Linked DNA regions of Homo sapiens: all the other regions are linked to region 1. The links are contacts of gene promoters, found by promoter capture Hi-C in human tissues and cell types (Jung and others, 2019). All regions are on one chromosome and are shown on one strand. Each heading gives the region's core, a stretch centred on a gene start or on the middle of the fragment in contact. The rest is flanking DNA. Distances are from core to core; before and after follow the strand shown. Region 1 holds the start of PDF (peptide deformylase, mitochondrial). Region 2 overlaps WWP2 (WW domain containing E3 ubiquitin protein ligase 2). Region 3 overlaps WWP2 (WW domain containing E3 ubiquitin protein ligase 2). Region 4 overlaps TANGO6 (transport and golgi organization 6 homolog). Region 5 overlaps NFAT5 (nuclear factor of activated T cells 5). Region 6 overlaps TANGO6 (transport and golgi organization 6 homolog). Region 7 overlaps NFAT5 (nuclear factor of activated T cells 5).

Evidence for each region. Contacts are between HindIII fragments. The study calls those that stand out against the background at their distance.
Region 2: a contact is called between a fragment that was not itself captured here and the fragment with the promoter of PDF in region 1, in 1 of the 25 tissues and cell types used here (dorsolateral prefrontal cortex).
Region 3: a contact is called between a fragment that was not itself captured here and the fragment with the promoter of PDF in region 1, in 1 of the 25 tissues and cell types used here (spleen).
Region 4: a fragment that was not itself captured here is called in contact with the fragment with the promoter of PDF in region 1 in 1 of the 25 tissues and cell types used here (H1 embryonic stem cells).
Region 5: a contact is called between a fragment that was not itself captured here and the fragment with the promoter of PDF in region 1, in 4 of the 25 tissues and cell types used here (lymphoblastoid cells, mesenchymal stem cells, small bowel and 1 more).
Region 6: a contact is called between a fragment that was not itself captured here and the fragment with the promoter of PDF in region 1, in 1 of the 25 tissues and cell types used here (lymphoblastoid cells).
Region 7: a contact is called between a fragment that was not itself captured here and the fragment with the promoter of PDF in region 1, in 5 of the 25 tissues and cell types used here (IMR-90 fibroblasts, hippocampus, lymphoblastoid cells and 2 more).

The regions. Positions count from the first base shown.
Region 1 is chr16:69,328,986-69,332,464 of GRCh38, reverse strand. PDF (peptide deformylase, mitochondrial) reads left to right here and starts at 1,877. Exons shown (of 2, transcript NM_022341.2): 1 at 1,877-2,468; 2 at 3,286-3,479. The coding sequence starts at 1,895. The coding sequence ends at 3,443. It overlaps COG8 (component of oligomeric golgi complex 8), which reads left to right. Exons shown (of 6, transcript NM_032382.5): 5 at 1,370-1,652; 6 at 3,286-3,479. The coding sequence ends at 1,626. RefSeq lists enhancers at 568-1,215, 1,864-2,511 and silencers at 1,440-1,829, 1,860-2,239. The HindIII fragment of the contact is 3,727 bases long and covers 1,183-3,479 here.
Region 2 is chr16:69,790,603-69,794,081 of GRCh38, reverse strand. All of the region lies in intron 2 of WWP2 (WW domain containing E3 ubiquitin protein ligase 2), which reads right to left. Among named protein-coding and RNA genes, the nearest start is that of WWP2, 30 kb to the right of the region's middle. The HindIII fragment of the contact is 7,902 bases long and covers 1-3,479 here.
Region 3 is chr16:69,773,932-69,777,410 of GRCh38, reverse strand. The region is part of intron 1 of WWP2 (WW domain containing E3 ubiquitin protein ligase 2); the gene reads right to left. Among named protein-coding and RNA genes, the nearest start is that of WWP2, 13 kb to the right of the region's middle. The HindIII fragment of the contact is 4,000 bases long and covers 1-3,479 here.
Region 4 is chr16:68,902,791-68,906,269 of GRCh38, reverse strand. All of the region lies in intron 9 of TANGO6 (transport and golgi organization 6 homolog), which reads right to left. Among named protein-coding and RNA genes, the nearest start is that of TANGO6, 61 kb to the right of the region's middle. The HindIII fragment of the contact is 3,745 bases long and covers 1-3,428 here.
Region 5 is chr16:69,691,893-69,695,371 of GRCh38, reverse strand. It overlaps NFAT5 (nuclear factor of activated T cells 5), which reads right to left. Exons shown (of 15, transcript NM_138713.4): 13 at 1,133-3,479; 14 at 1-236. The coding sequence ends at 1. Among named protein-coding and RNA genes, the nearest start is that of SNORD13H, 15 kb to the left of the region's middle. The HindIII fragment of the contact is 7,332 bases long and covers 1-3,479 here.
Region 6 is chr16:68,983,766-68,987,244 of GRCh38, reverse strand. The region is part of intron 15 of TANGO6 (transport and golgi organization 6 homolog); the gene reads right to left. Among named protein-coding and RNA genes, the nearest start is that of HAS3, 120 kb to the left of the region's middle. The HindIII fragment of the contact is 7,055 bases long and covers 1-3,479 here.
Region 7 is chr16:69,650,558-69,654,036 of GRCh38, reverse strand. It overlaps NFAT5 (nuclear factor of activated T cells 5), which reads right to left. Exons shown (of 15, transcript NM_138713.4): 5 at 609-801. Among named protein-coding and RNA genes, the nearest start is that of SNORD13H, 56 kb to the left of the region's middle. The HindIII fragment of the contact is 9,035 bases long and covers 1-3,479 here.

The DNA of each region.
Region 1 (3,479 bases), core at 628-3,127:
ATTATGTGGCTGTATCTGGCTAAGCGGAAGAAGCCAGTCACAAAAGAACTACATACGTATGATTCCATTTATGTGAAATATCTAGAGAAATGGTTTTTACAGTCTTTTTTTTTTTTGAGGCGGAGTCTCGCTGTGTTGCCAGGCTGGAGTGCAGTGGCACAGTCTTGGCTCACTGCAACCTCCACCTCCCGGGTTCAAGCAATTCTCCTGCCTCAGCCTCCCGAGTAGCTGGGACTACAGACTCGCACCACCACGCCCAGCTAATTTTTGTGTTTTAGTAGAGACGGGGTTTCACCATGTTGGCCAGGATGGTCTCTATCTCTTGACCTGTGATCCGCCCACCTCGGCCTCCCAAAGTGCTCGGATTACAGGCGTGAGCCACCACGCCCGTCCTAAAGTCTTTTTTCCAATTCACTTTCACGTCCTTGTCCCTTTGTGGTAGGAGAGGGGCTTGGTTGAGGCACAGCTTCCCAAAGGGCAATGGGTCAGTGCATCACACGTGCAAAGCCTGGCTGCCCTCTGCTTTTTCCCTGGTGCTGCCTGAGGTCTGGGTTCCTGCTGCAGGCACCCTACACTGCTGTTCCGTTACGTTCTGCTTCACAGTATAGCTTCCCATTCCCTGTAACAAAGGTGGTTTTTGCTGTATTAAAACATAGTAATTGATGGCTGGGCGCAGTGGCTCATGCCTGTAATCCCAGCACTTTGGGAGGCCGAGGCGGATGGATCACCTGAGGTTGGGAGTTTGAGACCAGCCTGGCCAACATAGTAACTCCGTCTCTACTAAAAATACAAAAATTAGCCTGGCATGGTGGCGGGCGCCTGTAATCCCAGCTACCACGGAGGCTGAGGCATGAGAACTGTTTGAACCTGGGAGGCAGAGGTTGCAGTGAGCAGCAATCACGCCACTGCACTCCAGCCTGGGCGACAGAGCGAGACTGTCTCAAAAAAAAAAATAGTAATGGCTCGTTTTTTTTCCCTTAAATTTCCTTTTTTTTTTTTTTTTTTTTTTTTGAGACGGAGTTTTGCTCTTGTGGCCCAGGCTGGAGTGCAATGGCGCGATCTCGGCTAACTGCAATCTCCACCTCCTAGGTTCAAGCGATTCTCCTGCCTTAGCCTTCCCAAGTAGCTGGGATTACAGGCCTGCGCCACCAAGCCCGGCTAATGTTGTATTTTTAAGAGAGATGGGATTTCTCCGTGTGGGTCAGGCTGGTCTCGAATTCCTGACCTCAGGTGATCCGCCCCCCCCTCCCCGGCCTCCCAAAGTGCTGGGATTACAGGCGTGAGCCACCGCGCCCGGCCTCCCTTAAATTTCTATATTGAGTTTTATTAGTAACTGTTTTCCATTTTGCTTTCCCCACGTCTGGGTTAGGCATTCCTCCCACTCAGCTCTCCAAGTACGGTAACCTAGGGCATGTGAACATCGGCGCCATTCAGGAGCCCCTCGCCTTTATCCTGCCAAAGAGAGAGACGCTTTTCACCCTGGATGACCAGGCGCTGGGGCCCGAGCTCACAGCTCCAGCACCAGAGCCTCCCGCCGAGGAGCCACGCCTGGAGCCCGCGGGCCCAGCCTGCCCGGAGGGAGGGCGAGCGGAGACGCAGGCCGAACCGCCCAGCGTGGGGCCCTAGCCGGCGTCCCCTGCCTCCAGAACGCGGTGCGTGAGGTTCCCGGCGCGGGGTGGCCAGGACTGCCTCGCCCTGGAAGGTCCGGGGCGGGTTCGGGAGGCGGGAAGGCGCTCCCGGGAGGAGAGCGGAAGGGGGCGGTGCTCACTGCCAGTCTAAGCAGGAAGGCGGGGATCCAGTCGCGGCTTCGCTGTGTGCTGGCCGACGGCGCTTCCCGGCGTGCCCCGCGCTGCGGCCGGAAGGGGCGGGCCGGGTCACTGTTAAGGGGGCCGCCATGGCCCGGCTGTGGGGCGCGCTGAGTCTTTGGCCACTGTGGGCGGCCGTGCCGTGGGGCGGGGCGGCAGCCGTCGGTGTCCGGGCTTGCAGCTCCACGGCCGCCCCGGACGGCGTCGAGGGCCCGGCGCTGCGGCGCTCCTATTGGCGCCACCTGAGGCGTCTGGTGCTGGGTCCTCCCGAACCGCCGTTCTCGCACGTGTGCCAAGTCGGGGACCCGGTGCTGCGCGGCGTGGCGGCCCCGGTGGAGCGGGCGCAGCTAGGCGGGCCCGAGCTGCAGCGGCTGACGCAACGGCTGGTCCAGGTGATGCGGCGGCGGCGCTGCGTGGGCCTAAGCGCGCCGCAGCTGGGGGTGCCGCGGCAGGTGCTGGCGCTGGAGCTCCCCGAGGCGCTGTGTCGGGAGTGCCCGCCCCGCCAGCGCGCGCTCCGCCAAATGGAGCCCTTCCCCCTGCGCGTGTTCGTGAACCCCAGCCTGCGAGTGCTTGACAGCCGCCTGGTCACCTTTCCCGAGGGCTGCGAGAGCGTCGCCGGCTTCCTGGCCTGCGTGCCCCGCTTCCAGGCGGTGCAGATCTCAGGTGCGGGCGGCGGGGACCGGGGCTGCTGGAGCAGCGCGCGCGTCTCTTCTGCCCGACTCCGCGAGAGCGCAGAAGTGGTCGCGGTTCATACGCCGGACCTCCCGCAGGAGCGAAGTGGGATGCGGGAGCGGAGAGGCCTCAGGACGGATAGAAGCTCCTGTGGGGTAGAGCCCGCTCAGATAGGACGCAGGGGCGAGGAGAGGTCCCCTAGTTCCGCTGTTACCTGACAGCCTGGCGTCTGCTTTCTGCTCCCTTGCTCTCTGAGGCAAACACGCTCTTCGGCCCCAGTTAGATCCGCCACGGTGGAGTTGGAGAAGTGGGGGTTAGCCCCCGCCAGCCTGACCCAGCCCAGGGGGCTAGGCCATTCCCCCGTGGTACCACAGGATGCCTCGCGGAATGCGGGCTCTGCTGGGGTCGGGGTGATTGTTCCTGCACAGCAAGCCCGTCGGTTCAAGATGGTCAGAAAAACAAGTGGGGTCTCAAGCTGCAGAACCTCTGTTAGGAGTTGGGAGCCCACAGGTACCTCAGAAGTGGGAGGAGTGTTCGGAAGGGTCGCACCGTAGAAAGATGATTTCTCATCTCAGCTCTACAGTGAGCTCGATAACCTAATTACCAGAGTTGGGAACCAGGTTGAACGCTTGGTAATGGACCGAGATGAGGGACGTTTTCCAGTTAGAAGAGGAGCTGCTGTCTACATTTGCCATCTGCTGTTGCCTCTTGTCAATGGGAACAGCCAGGACCGGGGGCAGGGGTAGGGAGGTTGAGGATGATGCAGTTCAGCTGTTCCCACTCACCAGGGCTGTAACTTCCTTTGCAGGGCTGGACCCCAATGGAGAACAGGTGGTGTGGCAGGCGAGCGGGTGGGCAGCCCGCATCATCCAGCACGAGATGGACCACCTGCAGGGCTGCCTGTTTATTGACAAAATGGACAGCAGGACGTTCACAAACGTCTATTGGATGAAGGTGAATGACTAAAGCTTTGCTACTGGGGCTGAGGATTCCGGATACCAA
Region 2 (3,479 bases), core at 538-3,037, 460 kb before region 1:
GCCGGGCGTGGTGGCGCACGCCTGTAGTTCCAGCTATTCAGGAGGCTAAGACACGAGAATCGCTTGAACCCAGGAGGCAGAAAGTGCAGTAAGCTGAGATTGTCCAACGCACTCCAGCCTGGGTAACAGAGCAAGACCCTGTCTCAAAAAAAAAAAAAAAAAAAAAAAAAGCAAGGATAATAACAGCCCTTCCCAAAACGAAACCACCTTTGTAAAACTAATCAACAGCCACAAGGTTAGGATTATGGGAGGGGCTTGAATTCTAATAAGAGGTAGGTATAGTTTCTATAATCCCTTACTGCTCAGGAGTCATGAAGCCAGAGGTCACAAGATTTGTGACTTCCCCAATTGCTCCCATAGATAACATCGCTATTGCAGAACCTAAGGTTGGTCTTTTGAGATTTTTTCTTTCTGGCAATCTACTGACTTTGCCTGGGCCCGTGACTTGACTCGTGAAACAAATTATCCTGTGGCCCCACCCAGAAGTGGACTCAGCACAGGACCATTTTCCACACCTCTATAATCTCATCCCCAACCAATAAGCAGCACCCATTCCCTAGTCCCCTACCTGTCAAATTGTCTATAAAAACCCTAATCTCTGAGCCTCCAGGAAGACTGATCTGAGTGATAACTCTGTCTCCCATATGGCCTGTTTTGTGTCAATTAAACTCTTTCTCTAATGCAATGCTACAGTCCCAGTGAATTTATTTATTTATTATTATTATTTTTTTAGATGGAGTCTTGCTCTGTCACCCAGGCTGGAGTGCAGTGGTGCAATCTTGACTCACTGCAACCTCTGCCTCCCAGGTTCAAGCAATTCTCTGCCTCAGCCTCCCAAGTATCTGGGATTACAGGCGCCTGCCATCACACCCAGCTAATTTTTTTGTATTTTTAGTAGAGACAGGATTTCACCATCTTGGCGAGGCTGGTCTTGAACTCCTGACCTCATGATCCCACCTAGGCCTCCCAAAGTGCTCGGATTACAGGCATGAGCCACCGCGCCCAGCAGTGAATTTATTTTATCTGTGCAGTGGGCAAGAAGAACCCACTGGGTGATTACAATTGTTTCCTCATGATTAGATTCGGTTTAAAGGCCAGGCACAGTGGCTCACCCTGTAATTGCAACACTTTAGGAGGCCGAGGCAGAAGGGCCACCTGAGCCCAGGAGTTCGAGACAAGCCTGGGCACCACAGCAAGACCCCAAATCTACAAAAAATAAAATATTAGCCAGGTGTAGTGGCTCACACCTGTAGTTCCAGTTACTCGAGAGGCTGAGATAGGAGGATCCCTGGAGCCCAGGAGGTCGAGGCTGTAGTGAGCTGTAATTGTGCCACTGCACTCTAGCCTAGGTGACAGAGTGAGACCCTGACTCAAAAGAAAGAAGAATACTACATAAGTTATGTCGTGTACCTCTTACCACATACATTAGGTTGTCCTGCCATTGGGGATACTAAGTTTGAACATCTGCTTAATGTGGAGTTGGCCAGGTCTCTCCACTGACACATTTGTAACCTACAGTTAATCAGCAGGGTGATATTTTGAATATTTCTTGTTCTTAAAAGACAGGCTAAAATAAAGATATGAGCAAGTTTATCTAGAAAGTCTCTTTCATGAAATATATCTTTATACACAGAGTCACGACTTTATGTGAGATTTAGCTTTTAAAGTCAACAAATCAGGCAAAAATCATATAAAGACAAAATTATACACTGAAAAAGCTCTTAAGAAGGGACCACAATAGAGTCTGGCATCTGCTCTCTCAATAAGTTCCAAACAGCTTGTTTCTTGTTTTATTATACTATGCTTTTCAGAGATCAGTTTTTCAGTGTTTCTCTAGTAAAATATCAAATAAAATAGCTGTCCTACGTTTAAGGGCCTCGATGCATTTAAAAATATACCTTAAAACACCAGGATCACACTGTGGGCAGGCACAAGGGAACTGGAAACCGCGCAGTCACACCCCACAGGTTACACTATCAGCTTTCTTCATGAAATGCACGGGAAAAAGAACCACCTACGCTATTTAAATGGTTATTTCTCTCTTTCTCTTTCCCCCCACCATTTTCCTGAATGGTATTACCAAATCTGTGTAGGTTAAATATGTGTATAATGAGATACACCAGTATTATCAAGCTGGCTCTTTCCACCCTGGTAAGAAAATTCACCTTCAAGAAAGGCAACAAAAAAGCCTTTAGAAGTATGTGCTGGACAGGTGCAGAGGCTCACATCTATAATCCCAGCACCTTAAGAGGCCGAGGTGGGGGCCAGGCACGGTGGCTCACACCTGTAATCCCAGCACTTTAAGAGGCCAAGGTGGGAGAACTGCTTGAGTCCAGGAGTTTGAAACCAGCCTGGACAGCACAGCAAGACCTATCTCTATAAAAAAAATTTAAGAATTAGCTAAGTATGGTAGTGTATGCCTAAAGTCCTAGCTACTCAGGAGGCTGAGGCAGGAGGATTGCTTGAGCCTATTTTGAGGCTGCAGTGAGCTGTAATCATGCCACTACATTCCAGCCTGAGCAACAGAGAAAGACTGTCTCAAAAAAAGAAAAGAGGCCAGGTGCAGTGGCTTACGCCTGTAATCCCAGCACTTTGGCAGGCCGAGGTGGGTGGATCACCTGAGGTCAGGAGTTTGAGACCAGCCTGACCAATACGGTGAAACCCTGTCTCTACTAAAAATACGAAAATTAGCCGGGTGTGGTGGCAGGTGCCTGTAATCCCAGCTTCTTTGGAGGCTGAGGCAGGAGAATTGCTTGAACTTGGGAGGCAGAGGTTGCAGTGAACCAAGATCACGCCACTGCACTCCAGCCTCGGCGATAGAGCGAGACTCCGTCTCAAAAAAAAAAAAAGAAAGAAAAAAAGAAAAGAAGTAAGTGTGCGTGGCTGAATAACATGGCCCCAAAACAGAGACCTCAGGATGTTACCAGGTCCAATAGGCCAACTTCTGCTTTGACCTAGACTTGCTAATTATTAGCTAAGGTAATAAAGTCTGTAGCCCCCAGTTTAAAACCATATTAGTTCACTCTAACTCATCTCCCTACTCAAAAGGGCAGAAGCAAGGCAAAAGACTCCAAGAAATATAATTAAAATATTTCAAGACTACAAAAACAATCAATAATGTAATAAGAAACAGGCAAAGAACATGAACAGGCAATCCATAGGAAAGGAAATACAACCGCCCTTAAATATATAAGATGCTAAACACTGGCCGGGTGCAGTAGTTCACACCTGTAATCCCAGCACTTTGGGGGGCTGAGGCAGGCGGATCACTTGAGGTCAGAAGTTCGAGACCAGCCTGGCCAACATAGCAAAACCCCATCTCTACTAAAAATACAAAAATTAGCCAGGTGTGGTGGCACATGCCTGTAAACCCAGCTCCTTGGGAGGCTGAGGCATGAGAATCGCTTGAACCCAGGAGACAGAGGTCGCAGTGAGCCAAGATCACACCACTGCACCCCCGCCTGGGTGACAGAGTGAGA
Region 3 (3,479 bases), core at 485-2,984, 450 kb before region 1:
GAGAATTGCTTGAACCCAGGAGGCAGAGGTTGCAATAAGCCAAGACCGCACCACTGCACTCCAGCCTGGGTGACAGAATGAGACTCCGTTTCAAAAAAAAAGAAAATATAAAAGTATATCACACACAAAGGAAAGTATTATTTCACAAAAAGTTTTACCAAATAAATATACATGTATATATATTAATAGGTGCATATATGATATCTCCATATGTATATTGTATATACACATATGTGTATATCCATATGTGTATTGTATATACACATATGTGTATATATATCCATATGTGTATTGTATATACACATATGTGTATATATATATCCATATACTGTTTTAAAATAAATATACATACATATATATACACACACACACATATACTGTTTTAAGATATAAAATGTATGTCTTACTAAAGGTTGCAGTCAAAAAAGCTTGAGACTACTGGTCTACAACAATCCCATCTAAGGTAGGGTTTTAGATTAAACAAACACTACAGAACCTAATAAGCAAATACTACACTAGGGACTAATTTCATTCAGAGAAATGTCATCAGTTTATTATAATTTTTTTTATTTTTTTTTTTTCGAGATGGAATTTCGCTCTTGTTGCCCAGGCTGGAGTGCAATGGCACAATCTCGGCTCACCACAACCTCCGCCTCCCAGGTTCAAGCAATTCTCCTGCCTCAGCCTCCAGAGTAGCTGGGATTACAGGCATGCACCACCACGCCCAGCTAATGTTTTGTATTTTTAGTAGAGACGGGGTTTCTCCATGTTAAGGCTGGTCTCGAACACCTGACCTCAGGTGATCCGCCCACCTTGGCCTCCCAAAGTGCTGGGATTACAGGCGTAAGCCACTGCGCCCGGCCTATTATCATTATAAGTTAAGAAACTTCCCACATCTAGGTAACAATCTCTAGAGCTTAGATAAGAGGCATTCATTCATTTGACAAATATTTATTGAGCATCTATTATGTACTCTGCACTGGTTTTGGTGCTAGTGGTATACTGCTGAATAAAACAGAAGAAAAAATCCTTCTTTACAAGATTATCCTGGTAAAGAGTCAAGAAAGATTCCCTCCTAGCTCTAGTTGTGGGAAGTAACCATAGTGAAATAGGCCCAGAGCAATGGCCTACTCTCCAGGGAAGAAGACTTTACCAGAGCCTTATCCTACCTGGTGGAAGAGAAGTCCCCTGACTCCAGCCCTCTTTAGCCTTTCTGTTTCATCTAAGGGGAGAAAAACAGTTAAATATGAGTGACAGTCATAGCCTGGGACACAGGCCCACTAAAAGACTAGGATTTGACCATGAGGCTATAGAATGCTTCCCCTCCCCCATACTTTGCTGTCACACCAACAGGGCTCCAGTACAACAACAGGGAATTAGGGCTGAAAGGCATACACTCTATTTAAGAAGGAGTTTTTAGGGAAAACCAAAGATAACAGGGGAGACAGAAACAAGGACACTAGAGGAATTTGAAGCCTCAGATACCAACAGTTACAGCAATCATTAAACACAGACCAACTCTTAGCCAGATTAACATGAAACACCATACTAACAATACTAATGGACTATTTATCTCATTTCCTATTACCTAATACATCATGTCCAGCTTTCTTTTTTAAACAAGAACTAGGGAGGGGTAAGGAAGAGGAACTGATCAGCAGGAAGAAGGTCAATGTCTAGCTCTCAATGAAAAATTACAAAACACACTAAAAGGCAAGAAGAAACAGTGTGAAAAAGAAATAAAGCAAGCATCAGAACCTGACTCAGATAGGACAGATTTTAGAATAATCAAACAGGTAATGCAAAATAACTATGATTACTAGGTTCAGGGCTCTAATGGAAACAGCAGACAACACATGAGAATAGATGGGCAATGTAAGGAGAGATATAGCAACTATAAGAGTCAACAGAAAATGCTAGAAATCATAAACACTGTAATAGAAGTGAAGAATGCCTTGATGGGCTCATCAGTAGACAGGACATGGCTGATGGGGTTTAAGATACCTTACCCCAAAACATGACACCTTGGCATTTAAGAAAACAGGAAAAGCAGGAAGTCACTCTCAGCTTCCTCTCACCCTTCTCCCATAAAGCAGGTCATAAAGCCTATGAAAGATTTTCTGACCTTCCCCTGAAACGGGTCATATGACCCTCCTTTGAGAGATGCCCTCCTTATACCCCAAGGAAAGAAATATCCTTCTCTGAAAACAAAAGGACACAGAGAAGAATCTGAACAAATAGGACTTGTTAAATTTCCCCCAGTGTATTACCAGTCAATCATACCCCTTTTGTCCAATCGTATTTCTCCACGATTGTCCACTCTTCATCAAACCTAAACATAAATACACATTATCTGTTTCTCCAGGTCTTAGTCACGTAAATTTATATGATATAAATTTGCATGCTTTTCACTTTTTCTTTTCTTTTCTTTTTTTTTTTTTTTTGAGACAGTCTTGCTCTGTCACCCAGGCTGGAGTGCTGTGGCGTGATCTCAGCTCACTGCACCTCCACCTCCCAGATTCAAGTGATTCTCATGCCTCAGCCTCCTGAGTAGCTAGGGTTACAGGTACATGCCACCATGCCTGGCTAATTTTGGTATTTTTAGTAGAGATAGGATTTTACCAAGTTGTCCAGACTGGTCTTGAACTCCTAGGCTCAAGCCATCCTCCTGCCTTGGCCTCCCAAAGTGATGGGATTATAAACGTAAGCCACAGCACCTGGCCAAAATAGAAATTAAAAAGGCATGAACAGGAAGGTCTCACTGAGAAGGTGACATTTGAGCAAAGATCTGAAGAAGCTGAAGGAAGAAACTGAGAGTATCTGCAAAACATTCAGATAGATAAAAGGGTATGATGGCCAGCAGTGGTGGCTCATGCATGTAATCCCAGCACCTTAGGAGGCCAAGTCAGGTGGATCACTTGAATCCAGGAGTTCGAGACCAGCCTGAACAATAGGGCAAAACCTCGTCTCAACAAAAACCACAAAAATTAGCCATGGTGGCACATGCCTGTAGTCACAGTTACTCGGGAGGCTGAGGTGAGGTGGGAGGATCGCTTGAGCCTGGGAGGTCTAGGCTGCAGTGAGCTATGATCACGCCACTGCACTCCAGCTAGGTGACAGAGCAAGACCCTGTCTCAAAAAAAAAATGCTGTTGAGGTGACAGCATGTCTGGGGAATACAAGGAAGGAAAGAGGCCAATGTTGGGTGGAAATGTAAGATGGAAAGAATAACAATAAGATAACAGATGTAATTGAATGTGTAGAGTTAGGTTAAATTATCCTTAATGAAGGATCAAATGCCTTGGAGCAGTGGTTCTCCATCCTTTCTAGACATCTGAATTATCTGGGGAGCATTAAAAAAAAACAACACTGACCACCAAACCCTACCCTCAGAGATTCCCATTTAATTGGTCTGGGGTGGGCCAGGGACAGCTGTGTTATTTAAAAATTCCCCAAGTGATCCTAATATGAAGCTGGGTT
Region 4 (3,479 bases), core at 307-2,806, 430 kb after region 1:
GAACATGATTACCAAGTTATAAAATCTGGCTAAATCAGTGCTATGGTTACTGCGAAAATTTCTATAATTATTTATTTATTTATTTATTTGAGATAGAATCTCGCTCCTGTTGCCCAGGCTGGAATGCAATGGCGCGATCTTGGCTCACTGCAACCTCCGCCTCCTGGGTTCAAGCGATTCTCCTGCCTCAGCCTCCTGAGTAGCTGGGATTACAGGCGCCCACCACCATGCCCAGCTAATTTTTTGTATTTTTAGTAGAGACAGGGTTTCACTATGTTGGCCAGGCTGGTCTCGAACTTCTGACCTCGTGATCTGCCCACCTCGGCCTCCCAAAGTGCTGGCATTACAGGTGAGCCACTGTGCTCGGCCATTTTTTGTTTTGTTCTTTTTTAATTTTTGAGACAGGGTCTCACTCATTGCCTAGGCTGGAGTGCAGTGGTGCGATCGTGGCTCACTGCAGCCTCAACCTCCCAGTCTGAGGCAATCCTCCCACTTCAGCCTCCTAAGTAGCTGGGACTACAGAGGGGCACCATCACAACCAACTAATTTTTGTATTTTTTTGTAGAAACCGGGTTTTGCCACATTGCCCAGGCTGGGCAAGAAATTTTTGTACTTTCCCATGAGGTACTATGGCTTTTAGTTTTTAATTATTCTGACAAGAGACAAAGATACTATGTATACATATATATACACCTGTGTGTGTACTTACTATTTTTTTAACTTTTTTTTTTTTTTGAGACAGAGTTTCGCTCGTCACCTAGGCTGGAGTGCAATGGCGCAATCTCGGCTCACTGCAACCTCCACCTCCTGGGTTCAAGTGATTCTCCTGCCTCAGCCTCCTGAGTAGCTGGGATTACAGGTGCCCGCCACCACGCCTGGCTAATTTTTGTATTTTTAGTAGAGACAGGGTTTCACCATGTTGGCCAGGCTGGTCTCAAACTCCTGACCTCGTGATCCACCCACCTCAGCCTCTTCCAAAGTGCTGTGATTACAGGCGTGAGCCACTGCGCCCAGCCCCAATTTTATTTTATTTTTTTTTGAGACACAGTTCCACTCTTGTTGCCCAGACTGGAGTGCAATGGCACAATCTCGGCCCACCGCAACCTCTGCCTCCCAGGTTCAAGCAATTCTCCTGCCTCAGCCTCCCAAGTAGCTGGGAATACAGGCATGCGCCACCATGCCACCACGCCCGGCTAATTTTGTATTTTTAGTAGAGACGGGGTTTCTCCATGTTGGTCAGGCTGGTCTCAAACTCTTGACCTCAGGTGATCCGCCCGTCTCGGCCTCCCAAAATGCTGGGATTACAGGCATGAGCCACTGCGCCTGGCCTTTTTTAAGAAATGGAGTCTCGCTATGTTGCCCAGGCTGGTCTTGAACTCCTGGCCTCAAGCAATCCTCACACCTTGGCCTTCCAAAGTGCTGGGATTACCAGTATGAACCACCATACCCAGCTCAAGATACTATATTATTATACCATATTATCATATAAACAAATACAAAGGCATTGAAGATGCACTAAAAAGCAAAACACTAAAATAATGTGAACAGAAAATAAGATACTAGTTGACTTTTGTTTTCCTCTTTATGTGTTTTTTGTATTGTACAAAGAATATGTGTTATTTCAGTGACCAATGACATAAAATTTTTTCAGACTAAGTTGAGAAAAAAAAGATAGATGTTTCTTCATCTCATTGAAAAGTACAATTACTAATTTGGCAGCCCATCTCATCAGGCAGTATGTCTCAATGTGCCAGTTCACTAAGAACATGGACTTCATATTCCTCTAATAGAATGAATAACCTACATATTTAGCTTAGGATATTTCCTGTATTATCCCAGAATCTTCCAGAGTCCTTCAGATCAGTCATGTTTTCTCCACAACATTCTATGTTAAAGGAAAAGCCAAAATGGATAAACGTCCCTTCTAAGCTTCTGTGAGCCATTTTAATTGTGAAAATGAAGTACTGTATTCAAATACTCCTAAAACAACACGACGTTAGCCTGGCATGGTGGCGCGCACCTGTAGTCCCAGCTACTTGGCAGGCTGAGACAAGAGAATTGCTTGAACCCAGGAGGCAGAGGTTGCAGTGAGCCAAGATCATGCCATTGCACTCCAGTCTGAGCGACAGAGCAACACTCAGCACCAAAAAACAAAACAAAACAAAACAAAAACACATGACAATTATCTTAAGAAGCACTACTTTAGTCACGCTTTAAAATTCAACAATAAAGAGTAAATTCCAAACAATTATATTTAATTCCAGAAAAGTAAAAACTCTGGATCTAAAGATATAAAATCCAAGCTGCTCTTATAGAGTTTCTTTAAATAAACTTCTTTTTTTTTTTTTGAGACAGAGTCTCACTCTGTCACCTAGGCTGAAGTGCAGTGGCGCAATCTTGGCTTACTGCAACCTTCATCTCCTGGGTTCGAGTGACAGTCCTGCCTCAGCCTCCTGAGTAGCTGTGACTACAGGCGCCAGCCACCACAACCGGCTAATTTTTATATTTTTAGTAGAGATGGGGTTTCACCATGTTGGCCAGGCTGGTCTTGAACTCCTGACCTCAAGTGATCTACCCACCTCGGCCTCCCAAAGTGCTGGGATTACAGGTGTGAGCCACCACGCCTGGTCCTTCTTTTTTTTTTTTTTTTTTTTGAGATGGTCTCGCCCTGTTGCCCAGGCTGGAGTGCAGTGGTACGATCCCAGCTCACTGTAACTTCCACCTCCTGATTCAAGCAATTCTTTTGCCTCAGCCTCACAAGTAGCTAGGCCTACAGGCATGCACTACCATGCCTGGCTAATTTTTGTATTTTTAATAGAGATGGGGTTTCACCATGTTGGCCAGGCTGGTCTCAAACTCCTAACCTCAGGTGATCCACCCGCCTCAGCCTCCTAAAGTGCTGGGATTACAGGTGTGAGCCACCGTGCCTGGCCAAAAACATCTTCTTGATAACTGTTGCTGGGCAGAATAGCAGCTTGCGTTTGTACTGATAATTCTGTTTGCAATCTATGTGTTTTTCTATTTTCCTCAAGTCCATCAAACTGAAGGGGTGTTTTACAACTTTACCAAGTTAACCATGAATATATAATTATATTTCAACACTTCAACAAACAGCAGCACTTTGAATGTGATGTGAAATCCAAACAGGATAGCAGTCACCCATGAATGTTACATGGACTATGACCAACAGGAATTTACGTTCTGAGGTAATAACATTAGATCATCCAGAAAGTGGAAATAATTTAAAATATGCAATTGTGAGATGCTGGAGAAATAAATGATCCATTCCACTAATATTTATTAAGCACTTTCTAATCAATCCCTATGAGAAACAAATTTCCATCATAAAATTACCATAAAAGATAGCTATTAGACAATTTCCCTCAGGAATAAGTCTGACTATAAACACACACATATACCATTTTGAGAGTCAGAAAGATAATTGGATTATTATGGTGTTAAGGGTGAACATGTGTCTG
Region 5 (3,479 bases), core at 258-2,757, 360 kb before region 1:
TTAAAAGGAGCCAGTCAAGTTGTTCCCTTGGTTTTGCAATGAAACAAGCAAATCAATCTTTTCGATGTTCTGGTTGGTGTTTATAGAGGATGCCAGTGGAGAATTCTCTGGCATTTGCTGAGAAAGAAGTGTTGTCACAGGTGGCTGGCCCTCGTTTTGTGGTTGGCCTGGCTGACTTATGGCCATCAACTGATCAGGCAATGTAGCTGGTCCAGAGGTTAAAAGCTGACTACAGTCTGCAGAGACATTGAAAACAGAAGCTTAAAAGCTGACTACAGTCTGCAGAAACATTAAAAATAGAAGCTATCTGATTAGTAAAGATTCATGAAAAGATATTTATTAGTTGTTGGGGAAAATTCATTACTGCATTCTCCTTGTATATTACTAAAAGTTAGGCACCTGATAGTCCAAGAAAAAGGTTTTCACAGACTGGCACTGGAATTCATCTTAGGTTTCCTTTAAGCAGTCTAAAAATACAACTTTGCTTAAATATCAAAAGTCCTATATAAATTCCTTGGTATATAAACATTAAAGATGAGTTTCTACCTCCTTAGAAACTACTTACTTCAACTGGGTAAGGTATTATCTGTCATTCTGACTTCATTTTCCTTTTAAGTTTATAGCTTAAAATGGCAAACACACATTTTTATACATTGCCATATTTAATCCTCCCCAAATCCATGTAAAGTATGTAATATTATCACCATTTTAAATGAGAGAATTGAGACCCATAAAAGCCAAATAACTTGTACAAGATCTTATAGTCTATAGGTGATAGAGTTCTAACTACAATCTGTACTCTTAAAACAACTATACAGGACAGGTGTGGTGGCTCACGCCTGTAATCCCAGCACTTTGGGAGGCCGAGGCCAGCGGATCACTTGAGGTCAAAAATTCAACACCAGCCTGGCCAACATGGTGAAACCCCGCCTCTAACAAAAATACAAAAATTAGCTGGGCGTGGTTGTGCACACCTGTAATCCCAGCTGCTTGGGAGGCTGAGGCAGGAGAATCACCTGAACCTGGGAGGCAGAGGGTGCAGGTGCAGTGAGCTGAGATCGCACCACTGCACTCTGCTTCCTTCTAATAATAATAATGACCAATTAAGTAATGAAAAATTAGAGTTTCTTACTATTTTGAATGCCAAATAAGAACATTCCTGATGTCTGCTGAGATGAGCCAGGAGAATTCTGCAGTTGGTTCATTGTGCCTCCTGCTGTGTTGTGAAATAAAGTAGCCTGTGGTTGAGGCGAAGATGTGGCTCCTTGAATTCCAGGCATGTTGTTCTGAGGGGAATAAAGAGGAGACTGTTGCATATCTTGTTGATTTATACTGGTCTGCAAGGCAGACATGGATGCTGGAGATAAGAAGAGAGTTACTTGCTGCTCTTGAGAACTAGGTGACCCTTGTACCAACTGAATCTGAGGAGAGCTATGGAACAAGGGGGTCTGTGATGATTCCGACTGGGTAGGACCTGGGTTCTGAAGTGAGGAAACTGTGGACTGACTCTGAAATTGCATGGGCTGTTGCTCTTGATTCATTGGGGCCATGTTACTTTGTTGGTGAAAAATTGACTGGTTCTGTTGCTCCTGATTAGCCATTGGATTTTGATTTGGGTTGAATATCATGTTTGGTGGTGGTTGCTTTGGAGACGCCATTGTAGCCATGGTATTCTGATTACTGAATAAAATGCTCTGTTGTTGTTGCTGCTGCTGTTGCTGCTGCTGTTGCTGCTGCTGCTGCTGTTCCTGGGATGGAGAGTTACTCTGCATGGCAACTATTGAGTGCTGTGACTGGAACATGGTTCCTTGTTGGCTTTGAGGCATTGGATTAGGTGGAAGGGAGCCCAGGGCCACCTGAGGCTGAAATAAACCCTGCTGCGGGGGTTGTGCCTGTTCTTGGGAAAGCATAGGAGTCTGGATGTGTGATATTGGAGCTTGCTGTTGGAAAGCAGCTTGTTGTTCACTGTTTGATGTTGACTGAAGTGGAGAAATTGAGTTCGGTGCTGCAAAAAATGCTTCTTGGGCTACTGTGTTAGTCTGAAGATTATTCATGGGACTCTGGGAAAGAAATATGTTGGTTGACTGCTGGTCTTGAGGAACTGAAGAGCCCTGTAACACAGCAATGGTACTTTGAGAGTGAAACATTGGAGGCTGCATTTGTTCAGAGGAGGTTGTAGAAGTCTGACTGTGGACAATAGGATTTGGACTATGAAAGAGAGAACCTTGAGTTTCCTGGGAAAGGTTCTGAGCATCGGCAATAGGATTTTGAGGATGAAAAAGTTGGGCCTGTGAATGAGAAGACTGCTGCAAAAAATTTCCAGATTGAAGTGACATCATCTCATTCCCTTGCTGGAATAAACCATTACCTTGTTGTTGGGTACCACTATTCTGAACACTCATCATACTTTTTGTGGATGAAAAAAGGTTAACTTGAGGTTGATTGTCCCCACTATGTTGCATTTGGACCATGGTCTGAAAGACACTGTTCTGAATCTGTTTTGCTTGTGTTCCAGTTTCTTCTCCATCTCCTGAACTTGATGTCTGAAACATGGTAGTGCCAGGGGTTGCAACCTGCTGTGTGGTAGTTGTAGAAGTTTCATTTCCAGAAACTGCAGGAGGAGAAGAAAACAATTCACACTGCATTTGCATATCCTCATTGGTAGACAATGCACTCATCATGTGAGAAGTCTGCTGGTAAACTGGCGATTGCTGAAGGTTTCCATTTGCTGAAGCAGTTGAAGGGAATAACTCTGACTGAATCTGGGCAGCTGCCTGGCAGATACTCTGTTGCATCTCCATCACCATTGCGGCTGAAGATTCCATCACTTGCTGTTGCTGCTGCTGCTGCTGCTGTTGATTAGATAACGTGTTTTCAGACTGTGGATGAACACTTTCAGCTCTTCCAGGTAATAAATTATCTGGTCTGGTATGGACTGTTGGCTCTGTTGAGGAAAACATTCCAGGGCTTACACCACTCTGAATTTGACTGACTTGTTGAAAAATATCTGCACTAAGCTGCTCTTGAACATTCTCATTACCATCTGGAGCAGAAAATAAAACTGAAGATAACTGCTGCTGTGCCTCTAAAACTTGTTGGACCAAGTCAACACTTCCACTGCTGCCACTAGCAGTACTGCCTGTGAAACTCCCTGCTTGCAGCTGCTGAATAGTATTCTGAAGCTGACTCACACTATTTGGTGATGGAAAAATATTTGATGAAATCTGCTGCTGTAAAGTCTGTGCTTGTTCTTGTAGTGGTGACTGCTGCTGTTGTTGTGATGCCTCAGTCAGTTGTGACAAATTAACCACTGTACCATCTGACTGTAATATCTCTCTAGACTGAGTTTCTCTTGTCTGAAACTGTGTAGCCTGCTGCAATAGTGCATCGCTGTTGGGCAGCTGACTAGAAGCAGAAACTGCTGGAAAAGTACCAGGCTGTGAGATGTCCTGGGTTTGAATAGTTGTCAGGGTCTCTGG
Region 6 (3,479 bases), core at 687-3,186, 350 kb after region 1:
CAAGATATACACATATAAAAATATATTTTTATTAGCACACATAGATGAGAATTTATATTGCAGAGCTGTATATCATAGAAAAAAAATAGAAAAAAATGGATACCCATCCACAGAAAAATGGTTGAATAAATGATGTCAATTGTGGTATGGCCAGCCTATAAAATATGCAGCTGTTTAAAACTTTCTCCCTCATCTTAATTACCAGGTGAAGCCAATTGGAACTCACCGTAGCCTGCTAGATAAATCCAATTATTCAGTTTTCCTTTGTTTTCTCCAACTGGCTGGAAGAAGGTATCTGTCAGAGCAGAATTTGGGGCTGAATTTTCTCCACTCTAGACAGATTATAGGGGTCTCACTCTATCCCCAGGCTGGAGTGCAGTGGCGCAATCCTGGCTCACTGCACCCTCTGCCTCCCAGGTTCAAGCAATTCTCCTGCCTCAGCCTCCTGAGTAGCTGGGATTACAGGTGTGTGCCATCACTCTTGGCTAATTTTTGTATTTCTAGTAGAGACCGGGTTTCACCACATTGGCCAGGCAGGTCTTGAACTCCTGACCTCAAGTGATCTGCCACCTGGGCCTCCCAAAGTGCTGGGATTACAGGTGTGAGCCACTGCGCCCGGCCCAGATGATACGTTTTCTAAAATTGGATTATGGCTTCATTCTGGAGCTGCATGAACCATTAGAGACCTGGGGCCATGTGATACTCATCACTTGGATGAACTGAAGGGGTAAAGTGATTGCTAAACTAAAACACAAAAATCAAGCAGGTGACATGGAAAAGAGTTGACAAAGCACATTGAATCAGGGTGTTTTACAGCCGGAAACACCCCGTAAAGCCTAGGACTCACCCTTTTCCTAGAATATAGAGTAATCTGAGGAGCTGCTTTGCCTCAGGATTCCTGGGGGTCACTCTACTTACCGTGGCATACGACAGAAGAGATCAGAGACTTAATTCTCACCCCTCAGTCCTCATTCAAAATATGAATTCCTGATCTCTCCTAAAAGCAAACTCTTCAGATGGAGCAACATGAATCTGGCTATTTTTGTTCTGACTTTTAGAAGTCTCTGGCCTAGAGTAAACTGGAACTTGTCTTAGCTTGCTGATTACAAGGCTACATTCTGCCTCTAAAAATAATTAAGAAGTACTGTTCTTTGTACGTCATGATGACACCACCAGCTCTGAGTTGCTCTTCCAGGGAAGCAAAGGGTTCACACTGAGTCATGTATCCCTCAGTCCCTCTCTCCCCTCTTCCACCCACCCACCTCCCCTGACAGGTTCCTTGATTCTGGGAGCAAAGCTGCACATTTTGGAGATGGCTGGTCAGGGTTAAACATTTAGTTTATACCAAAGGTGTCAGAAGAGAAAGAAAAAAGGCAAAACAAAACCCGAAAAACATTTAGTCTGAAGCCATGAAATAGTTTTTCTCTATGAGATATTAGCAGTTTAATTCACTGCTGAAAAGACTGTACATTTCTGGAGGACAGCTTGGCACTAAGTATCTTTTAAAATTAAATTTAAAAAATGTGTTTTTTGAGACAGGGTCTCACTCTGTCACCTAGGCTGGAGTACAGTGGCACAATCATGGCTCACTGCAGCCTTGACCTCCCGGGCTCAGGTGATCTTCCCACCTCAGCCTCCTGAGTAGCTAGGACCATAGGTGCCTGCCACCACACCCCCAGCTAATTTTTGTATTTTTGTGTAGAGATGGGGTTTCGTCATGTTGTCCAGGCTGGTCTTGAACTCCTGGGCTCAAGTGACCTGCCTGCCTCAGCCTCTCGAAGTGCTAGGATTACAGGCATGAGTCACTGCACCCGCCGGTGCTAAATATCAAGAAGTATATGTTGACCTAATAACTTCCCTTGTAGAAACCAATCCCAAGGAAAGAACCAAAGAATCATCAAAAGGAGTTATATGTAAGAATAATCAACAGAACACTTGTCATAATCAGTAATAAACTGGAAACAACCTAATTAAACAATATGTTCCCAGAGATAATTAAATAAAAGTATAATAAATTCAGGTAGTTACATAATTAGATTATAACACAGTCAATATTATATTTTCAAGAAATAGGCCAGGCATGGTAGTTCACGCCTGTAATCCTAACACTTTGGGAGGCCGAGGCAGGAGGATCACTTGAGCCCAGGTGTTGGAGTCCAGCCTGGGCAACATAGTGACACACCATTTCTATTTAAAAAAAAACTAACAACAACAAAGAAATATTTAATGACATAGGAAAGTACTTACAAATAATGTTAACCAAGAAAAAAAAAAGCAGTATATATACATACAGTGTAATTACAATTCTGAGAAAGAAAAAAAAAGCTTGAAGAAAATACATCAAAATGTAAACAAAGAGTAGTTACTCCAAAGTGAAATTATAGGTGATTATTTTCTTTTTCATACTTTTAAATATTTTTCTGGGCCAGGTGTGGTGGTTCACATCTGTGATCCCAACACTTTGAGAGGCTGACACAGGCAGATCACTTGAGCTCAGGAGTTTGAGAACAGCCTGGGCAACATAGTGAGACCCCACATCTACAAAAAATAAAAAAATTAGCTGGGCATGGTGATGCATGCCTACAGTCCTAGCTACTCGGGAGGCTGAGGTGGGATGATGGCTTGAGGCCAGGAGGTGGAAGCTCTAGTGAGCCAGTGATGGCACCACTGCACTCTAGCCTGGGCAACAGAGCAAGATCCTAGCTTGAAAAAAAAAAATCCAAACTGTCTAATATAAGTAGGAAGTATAGTTCAATCTATAGACTTTTCCCTTCCCCTTATTATATCAGTAATAAGTTATAGCCATCAAAAAATTGATGTGAGAAAGAAAAAGAGAAACGGGAAAGGAAAAATAGTTACTTAGTCTGGATTTCAACCTTCAATTCTGGCCATATTAGTATTTCCATTTATATTAATATAAATGTTTGTTGAATTGAACTACACTGATGCCAGCCTAGGCAGACTCAGCAGGGAGCATTTCATTTGATCCTGAGTTTTGATGAAAATTTCTTCTTTAAAAATATGTGAGCTCTAACACTTGACTGCTGTTTATTGCTGCCAAAATCCATGAATGCTAAACTCCCAGACTGGTATCCAATTATTCACACTTCCAACCTCCCTTTTCACCTGAATTTAAGACTGTGCTGTGAAATGGAAATCTCTGAAAACTATCATACAAAAGCTATTTTTCTTTTTTTTTTTTTTTTCTTTTTGAGACGGAGTCTTGCTCTGTCGCCCAGGCTGGAGAGCAGTGGCGTGATCTCGGCTCACTGCAACCTCTGCCTCCCAGGTTCACACCATTCTCCTGCCTCAGCCTCCCGAGTAGCTGGGACAACAGGCACCCGCCAACACGACTGGCTAATTTTTTGTATTTTTATTAGAGATGGGGTTTCACCGTGTTAGCCAGGATGGTCTTGATCTCCTGACCTCATGATCCGCCCGCCTCGGCCTCCCAAAGTGCTGGGATTACAGGCATGAGC
Region 7 (3,479 bases), core at 691-3,190, 320 kb before region 1:
ATTTCTTTTTTTTTCCTCATTTCCTTCTTTCCTCCTGTACTTGAGTGGATGCAAATGATATCCCATTTCTTAAACCGTAAGCCTTAAGTATTAATCAAGTCTTTTCTCAGTCCAATAGTCTTGATTACTATAACCATCTCAAAAACCTTATTTTCAAAGTTCTTAATAATTTCTACTGTATTTCTCTGAATTCACTTTAATATTTCTTCCTCCAAGGCGGGAGGATCACTTGAGATCAGGAGTTCCAGACCAGTCTCGCCAACATGGTGAAACTGCGACACTACTAAAATACAAAAATTAGCTGGGCCTGGTGGCACACACCTGTAGTCCCAGCTACTCAGGTGGCTGAGGCATGATTACTTGCACCCCGGAGGCAGAGGCTGCAGTGAGCTGAGATCACACCACTGCACTCCAGCCTGGGTGACAGAGTGAGACTCTGTCTCAAAAAAAAAAAAAAAAAATTCTTTCTAAAGTTTGGGATGAATCTAATTCAAATATCAAATATGAGGGAAGAAAATTCATGATTTGAAAATATTTTACTTTTCAGGACATATTCTCATTCCCCTTTACATTTTAACTAAAATTCAAATGATAAATAAAGTAAATACCTTTACTGTAGGAAAGCCTTGCTGTGTTCTATCTTTCACTGAGCCACGGCTGCCCTCAGTCAGGTACCGAGCTCGGTGCTGTGTCTCAGGTTGTACAACTATCTTCAGCTCCTTTCCCTCACTTTTAACAGGATATTGTCCACACAACATAGGGCTCTTCTTTACTCCAGTTCCTTTTTGGTTTTCCAATGTTCTGAGAAATCAAAGCACAACATGGAGAAAGTATCAAAAAGAGTTTTTTGATAAAAAAAAAAAGCCATTAAGACAAAGGAAGAAACAGAACTGGCAATAATAGTAAAAACAACTATTCAGCTTGCTGGCAAAATAAAATATTGCCTAAAGGAAGATACATGAGCAAAGTATCTTTAAAAAGGTTTTGTAAAAAAGTTTACTATATGATGCAAAAATAAAACAAAGTATGTTTGACAGAAAAGAAAATGAACGTATGTGAGTGGTAGGAGGAAGGGAGGAAGATTGAGCGCAATAAACTGAGACTAACAGGAAAGAATAGCTAATGTCACTATAACCTTTAACATTGTACTTCAGTCAAAATAAGATTTAAAAATTCCATGTATGCATTCCACATATAAATTCCAAAATTTATATAAAGCTATAAGATTAACTACTGTTATTTTTTAACTGCACAGTAAAAGAAGTGAGGGTAGCGAAAACAAAAAACAAACCCCCAAAAACCCTACATACCCCCATACAAAATGGCCTACAAACCAAATGAAGGTATATGTAGCTTATTCTTTTGAGTATCCTTCTCAGTAAACCAAACTGAAGAAATTAGATAAAAAATTAGCGATTCAATTTTTATTGGGAAATTAGCTTTACTCTAAACAATCTTTTCTAGGAGTGTGATTTTTCAGATTATTTTTATCTGTGATTAGTTAAGTAATTAAAGCCCTCAATAAAAATTTTTACAATCTGGGCTTTACAGCACCAGCATTCTACCTTTTTTTTTTTTTTTTTCTGAGATGGAGTTTTACTCTGTCATCCAGGCTGGAGTGCAGTGGCACAATCTCAGCTCACTGTAACCTCTGTTTCCTGGGTTCAAGTGATTCTCCTGCCTCAGCCTCCCAAGTAGCTGGGATTACAGGCGTGTGCCACCAAGCCCAGCTAATTTTTATATTTTTGTTAGAGATGGGGTTTCACCATGTTGTCCAGGCTGGTCTCGAACTCCTGACCTCAGGTGATCCTCCCGCCTCAGTCTCCCAAAGTGCTGGGATTACAAGCATGAGCCACTGCACCTGGCCCTTATTTTTTTTAGTTATGCTTTTTAACATTTATTTATAATGCATTTGCTATGTGGAATGCATGTTCAAAGAAAAACAGTATCCCAAATGGTGGTTATGACTTCAGGCAAACACATTTAATCTGTAAAATAGTTGAAGCACTGCAAATACATAATAAAAACAAGTAAAAACAATATTGTTAGTTATCTTTCCTTTTGAGCAATGGTGTGGTGTCCCACACCTGTAATTCCAGCACTTTGGGAGGCCAAGCGGGGTGGATCACCTGAGGTCAGGAGTTTGAGACCATCCTGGCCAACATGGTGAAACCCCGTCTCTACTAAAACTACAAAAAATTAGCCAGGAGTGGTGGCAGGCACCTGTAATCCCATCTACTCGGGAGGCTGAGGCAGGAGAATCACTTGAACCCAGGAGGTGCAGGTTGCAGTGAGCCCAGATCGTGCCATTGCACTCCAGCCTGGTCAACAAGAGCAAAACTCCGTCTCAAAAAAAAAAAAAAAATTCACGTATGTTTTTAAATAAAGTCAGGGTCATAGCTTTCTCTGTGACCCTCCTAGTCCTAAGTTTTGACTCACATCAAAGATCCAGGAGCCAGATGACTGTGAAGAAAAATCTCCTCTAAAAGCAACCAGATTCCAGTAGGAATATTACGACTTCAAACACAGAGAAGCTAAGCAGGCTTAAACCTGGCTCTAATGTTTACCCCTCCAGCTGTAACCAAGTTGTTGCCTTAATCATCAAGAACAAAGTGAGGAAAGGCACTATCTTCAATGGAAATGGGGAGTAGGTTGAATCCTTGGCTAGGAAAGAGGCAAAAGAATGGAGCAAAGAAGGAATGAAACTAGCATAGGAATTCAGTAAGACTGATAGATGAGAGGAAAAGTTCTCAAGGCGCAATACTGTGCTTAATCATCTTTATATTCCCTGAACCTGGCACACTTCCTGAAACATAACAGGTGCTGAAGAAATGTTTGTTGATGAAGGCAAAGAAGAAGAAAGGGACAAAGAAAGGAAAGCAGAGGGATAAAGAAGCTTCTGTAATATTAAGATGAGAAAGATCCTAACTGGACAAGGAATGCCATTCGTGTAAATTTGACATAAGTAAATCAAAGATTACTTGTGCAAGTCATTTAAAAGGCCCTGGAAGAATAAATTCTATGAACATAAGTATCAAGTTGAAGCTGGAACAATGGGCAGTAAACCCTGTTTTTCTTTTCATCATTCTGGGTACAGATTCAAACATTTGGTCTAACTAGTGTGCAGTTCCTCACACATGAAAGTCTATGATATTCTGTTTTATACTAATCTTAAAGTAAAAATATTCATTTATTGAAACTATGTAGAAATATCCCCCAAATATACATACAAAGAGATGAAAGAAAATACTGCAAAATGATAATAGCAGATTTACTGAGTGACTAGATTATGAGGTTTTCTTGTATTTTTCAAATATTTGTAATTCATATGTATCAATTTTATAATAGAAAAGGGAAAATTTTAGTTTGAAATACAAGGAAAATTCATAGAGCATATCGATTAACTTGGCAAGACATGTTTTTATACTCACTTATGCTAGTCAAGCTAATATTTATAAGGGCAAATAAATGAAAGTGAG